Regions from separate parts of the Homo sapiens genome. Here region 2 is linked to region 1. The links are contacts of gene promoters, found by promoter capture Hi-C in human tissues and cell types (Jung and others, 2019). All regions are on one chromosome and are shown on one strand. The core of a region is centred on a gene start or on the middle of the fragment in contact, and the rest is flanking DNA. Distances in the headings are between cores, read along the strand shown.

Evidence for each region. The method cuts DNA at HindIII sites, captures the fragments that hold promoters and counts their contacts. A contact is called where the count stands out against the background at its distance.
Region 2: a fragment that was not itself captured here is called in contact with the fragment with the promoter of NAGS in region 1 in 1 of the 25 tissues and cell types used here (spleen).

What each region holds. Positions count from the first base shown.
Region 1 is chr17:44,003,178-44,005,877 of GRCh38, forward strand. NAGS (N-acetylglutamate synthase) reads left to right here and starts at 1,445. Exons shown (of 7, transcript NM_153006.3): 1 at 1,445-1,912; 2 at 2,460-2,700. The coding sequence starts at 1,487. It also overlaps a transcript of PYY not described here. RefSeq lists an enhancer at 2,368-2,700. The HindIII fragment of the contact is 21,260 bases long and covers 1-2,700 here.
Region 2 is chr17:44,312,892-44,315,591 of GRCh38, forward strand. It overlaps RUNDC3A (RUN domain containing 3A), which reads left to right. Exons shown (of 11, transcript NM_001144825.2): 3 at 213-361; 4 at 527-612; 5 at 1,844-1,933; 6 at 2,038-2,118; 7 at 2,264-2,429; 8 at 2,561-2,700. Among named protein-coding and RNA genes, the nearest start is that of RUNDC3A, 5.6 kb to the left of the region's middle. The HindIII fragment of the contact is 4,634 bases long and covers 1-2,700 here.

The DNA.
Region 1 (2,700 bases), core at 195-2,694:
CATGCCACTACTGCCTGGCTAATTTTTGTATTTTTAGTAGAGATGGGGTTTCACCATGTTGGCCAGGCTGGTCTTGAACTTCTGACCTCAAATGACCCACCCGCCTCCTCACTTGATTCTTAAGGCTTATGGCAAGTGATACTGGCCTAGTTACAGACCTAACATGGATAAACTTTAAGTTTAAAAAGGTTAAAGAGGGCCGGGCGTGGTGGCTCACGCCTGTAATCCCAGCACTTTGGGAGGCTGAGGCAGGTGGATCACGAGGTCAGGAGTTTGAGACAATCCTGGCCAACATGGTGAAACCCTGTCTCTACTAAAAATACAAAGATTAGCCGGGTGTGATGGTGTCTGCCTGTAATCCCTGCTACTCAGGAGGCTGAGGCAGGAGAATCGCTTGAACCCAGAAGGCGGGGATTACAGTGAGCCGAGATCGCAACACTGCACTCCAGCCTGGGCAATAGGGTGGGACTCCATCTCAAACAAACAAACAAACAAAAAAAAAAAAAAAAAAAAGGGTTACAGAGGTCGAGTGAAGTAGCTCACACCTGTAATCCCAGCACCTTGGGAGGCAGAAGTGGGAGGACTGCTTGAGCTCAGGAGTTCACGAACAGTCTGGGCAACATGGTGAACACCCGTCTTCAAAAAAAATAATTTTTTTTTAAATCAGCTGGGCATGGTGGTGTGCATTTGTGGTCCCAGCTACTAGGGAGACTGAGGCAGGAGGATCATTTGAACCTGGGAGGTGGAGGCTGCAGTGAGCTATGATTGCACCACTGTACTGCAGCCTGGGCAACAACAGAGTGAGACCCTATCTCAAAAACCAAAATAAAAAACTCTATTTTATTTTATTTTTACCAGATGTGATATTCGATAAAGAAAAGCATTAACACTAAAGTATTATAAGTTTTGAGGGGTGTTTTGAGGATATCACAGAATTCCTCAAGCTGGTACCCAGTGACTGGAGTTTGGCAAACCCTGGTAACCTCATGGTCATTCATTAGGATCTTTTTTGAGCTCAGGCAACAGGACAGACAAGGCCAGCACCACCCGCCCCCGCCCTCCCACTGCCCCCCTTCTTCTACTCTTTCCAGCGCCCTCCTTCCAGCCCCCTGCCCAGCCCTGTGCTCAAAGCCACCTACAGTCCCTTCTTCTCTGGTCAGAATGCCAATCATCCAAGGCCCTGCAGACTCCCAAAGCCGCCCCTGGAACCTACCTTGGCAGCAGATTAAAGACAACCCGCCACATTTAGTCTCGGCCCCATGACCGATAGTGGGTTCAGTTCCTCCAGGGGCGGGGGAGCCTAGTGGCCCCGCCCCCTGACTCATGGCCTGACCCTCCTCAAACGCACCCAGAGGAGACTCCTGGTCCCCTGTCCGGACCCCGCCCCGACCAGGTCCAGCCCCGCCCAACGGCAAGTTAAGAGCCCCCCAGTGCCAGACGCTCCAGACAGACTGCCACTCTTGGGGGGCAAGAGTTGGTTGTCGTCATGGCGACGGCGCTGATGGCTGTGGTTCTGCGGGCAGCTGCTGTAGCCCCGAGGCTGAGAGGCCGGGGAGGCACTGGGGGCGCCCGAAGGCTGAGCTGTGGCGCGCGGCGGCGGGCGGCGAGGGGCACCAGCCCGGGGCGCCGGCTCAGCACCGCCTGGTCGCAGCCCCAGCCCCCGCCCGAGGAGTACGCGGGCGCGGACGACGTCTCCCAGTCGCCCGTCGCCGAGGAGCCGTCGTGGGTGCCGAGTCCCAGGCCCCCGGTGCCCCACGAGTCCCCAGAGCCTCCTTCGGGCCGCTCGCTGGTGCAGCGGGACATCCAGGCCTTCCTGAACCAGTGCGGGGCCAGCCCTGGGGAGGCGCGCCACTGGCTCACGCAGTTCCAGACCTGCCATCACTCCGCGGACAAGCCCTTCGCCGTCATCGAGGTGAGCGGAGCCCGGCGTGGGCCGTGACGCAGCGAGGGGATGGGGTTGTGCGGCCACCTGTCCTCAGGCATGGCAGGATACGCTGCGGGCTCTGCGCAGCGGAAGCGGGAAGGAGCCCGGCAGGGCCCAGACCAGCGCCGCCGGGAATGGGAGAGGCCGTAAGCTCCTCCGGAAGCCTCCCGCCCAGCCCGAGTGAGGATCCTGGGGGACCCCACCCGCCAGGTGTGATGCTCTGAAGAAGGCCCCCAACATGGGCGCAGTTAGGGGTTCAGAAGGACCTGGACAGGAGCCGCTTGCACTGCCCCTCCCCCAAAGATGTCCCGGAGTCCAAGGTCGGAGGGAGGAGGGCGGGAGGTACCCCAGCGTGAGACAAGGGAGTGGCAAGACCCAACGGGGCAAAGGGCGGAGCAGGTGGGCACTGGTGGCCAGAACTGGGTCCTGACAGCTTCTGGAAGGGTAGGGTCACCGAGACGGCCCTGCAGGCCAGGCTGTGGGAGCCAGCGGCTCAGGTCCGTGTCACGCTCCTTGAAAGCCCACTCCTCCGCAGGTGGACGAGGAGGTGCTCAAGTGCCAGCAGGGCGTATCCAGTCTGGCCTTTGCCCTGGCCTTCTTGCAGCGCATGGACATGAAGCCGCTGGTGGTCCTGGGGCTGCCGGCCCCTACGGCTCCCTCGGGCTGTCTTTCCTTCTGGGAGGCCAAGGCGCAGCTGGCCAAGAGCTGCAAGGTGCTGGTAGACGCGCTTCGACACAACGCCGCCGCTGCTGTGCCATTTTTTGGCGGCGGGTCTG
Region 2 (2,700 bases), core at 9-2,508, 310 kb after region 1:
TTGTGTACAGATCTGGGAAGAGGGAGAGGCCTTTGGCCTACAATCCCCATCATGGGCAAGCGATATGCTGGGGTGCCCACTGCACACGTGCATGTGTGTGCACAGATCTTTGTGGGAGGAGGCTGCTTATGCTTATGCATGTGAGTGCCTCACTACATGGACCCTCTCCAAACTCCCTGGTCTTGCTGAGCCCCCTCCCTGCCCTGGCTCAGCCTGTGCCCCAGCAGGTCCAGTGAGCTGGTTCAGCTCAGACGGGCAGCGGGGCTTTTGGGACTATATCCGGCTGGCCTGCAGCAAAGTGCCCAACAACTGTGTGAGCAGCATCGAGAACATGGAGAACATCAGCACAGCCCGGGCCAAGGTGAGGGGCCTGAAGCAAGCAACTGCTCTCTGCTCTGGACACAGGGGGCCTGCCTGTTTCTTGGTTTTTGCCCCCTGTGCACAGCCCAGGGGAGAAGGGCCCACACCTGATGCTGGACACATGAGTCCCTCTGGGGCAGCAAGTAAAGGTGAACATGATTTCCAGGGCCGGGCATGGATCCGGGTGGCACTGATGGAGAAGCGCATGTCAGAATACATCACCACGGCTCTGCGTGACACCCGGACCACCAGGTCAGACTTCCCAGGCAACTCAGACCACAGGTCTCAGAGTGCACCTGCATTGCCCAAACACAGCTGATCCTTAAGTTCCTGCAGCATCCTTCAGTTCCTGGACTACAAGTCCCAGCACCAGCACACATGGCTGATTTCCCTCTTCCAGCCTGGCCTGCAGTCCCAGGACGAACTCTTTTTTTTTTTTTTTTTTTTGAGAAGGAGTTTCGCTCTTGTTGCCCAGGCTGGAGTGCGATGGCGCGATCTCGGCTCACTGCAACCTCCGCCTCCTGGGTTCAAGCGATTCTCCTGCCTCAGCCTCCTGAGTAGCTGGGATTACAGGCATACGCCACCATGCCCAGCTAATTTTGTATTTTTAGTTTCTCCATGTTGGTCAGGCTGGTCTCAAACTCCCAACCTCAGGTGATCCTCCCGCCTTGGCCTCCCAAAGTGCTGGGATTACAGGCATGAGCCACCGCTCCTGGCCCCAGGACAAACTTTTACCACCACCACCACCACCACTTGCAAGTCAAATCTAATGCCCATTATTTGCCATCAATGCCCAGCACGCTCCACCCTTGCACACCTCTGGATGAGCCTCAGCCATGCACCATCTCAAGTGTTGGCTTGCTCCATGATCTACAACACAGCCCTTCTGTCTCTCCAAACAACGAAAGCAGTTCTGTACTTGCTATTCACGGACACAGAGTCCTTATATGGGGAGTTCAATCCCTGCACTGTGGGTTCACAGGGAGGTTGGGTGCCTGAGGCAAGGGGTTACAAGGAGGAGTGTGCCTGTGTGGGCAGGTGCATCTGAAGCTGTCTGGGTGTGGCGGGGGGCATATACCTCCCCATCCCAATTGGCCATACCCAGCCTGATGTTTTTACTGAATTCCATTCCTCAGTCTACACGTTTCAAGTTAACACGTTTTTTGCGCACCTACTGTATACCAAGCACTAATGATTAAGACTTGCTTCCTGATATGAAGGATCTGGGTAACCCAGTACTTGATGAGGAAGGGGTAGCTCAGAGGGAGGAGTCGGCTCAGGGAACACCCATTCTAGGTGATGGGGCCACAGGTGCGAGCCCCAGGCTGAAGGGGGAGAGAGGCTCCAGGCCTGCGTGCAGATCAGGAAGGAGAATTGGCCTTCCTTCAGGATGGGGTGGCAGTAAGCCAACAATAGCAGCTCTGGGGGGGGGGGGGGCGCTCCAGGGGCCTGCTGCATCCTCTGGCCCTCTGCCTCCCCACAGACGGTTCTATGACTCTGGAGCCATCATGCTGCGGGATGAAGCCACCATCCTCACCGGAATGCTGATCGGACTGAGCGCCATCGACTTCAGGTGGGGTCTGCCTGACGGCAGTGGTGGAGGGGGCTGTTTCCCCCATAAATGTCCTACCCCAACCCCTCACACCCACCTCCAACCCTGTGGCTCCTCTGCCTCAGCTTCTGTCTAAAGGGGGAAGTCCTGGACGGGAAGACCCCCGTGGTCATCGATTACACGCCCTACCTAAAGTTCACGCAGAGGTGAGCGGCTCCATGACTGCGGCGGGGCGGGGGACGGGGCCTCGGGACATCCTGGGGACGTCCTGGTCCCACCGCCCTCAGCGGCCAGCGCAGACGCGCGGGGGGAGGGGCGGGACCGGCCGTGCCCACTGCTCCCTCTCCCAAGCTACGACTACCTGACGGACGAGGAGGAGCGGCACAGCGCCGAGAGCAGCACGAGCGAGGACAACTCGCCCGAGCACCCGTACCTCCCGCTCGTCACCGATGAGGACAGCTGGTACAGCAAGTGGCACAAGATGGAGCAGAAGTTCCGCATCGTCTACGCGCAGAAGGTGCGCGACGCCGGCGGGCCCGGGGGGCGGGCGGGCCGGGCGGGGGATCCGGGCATCCCGGGGCGGGGCGGGGATGGGGGCCGCGGCCGGGACGTCCTCCCAGCCGCCCGGGCTGAGCCGGCGCCCCGCAGGGCTACCTGGAGGAGCTGGTGCGTCTGCGCGAGTCGCAGCTGAAGGACCTGGAGGCGGAGAACCGGCGGCTTCAGCTGCAGCTGGAGGAGGCGGCGGCGCAGAACCAGCGCGAGAAACGGGAGCTGGAAGGCGTGATCCT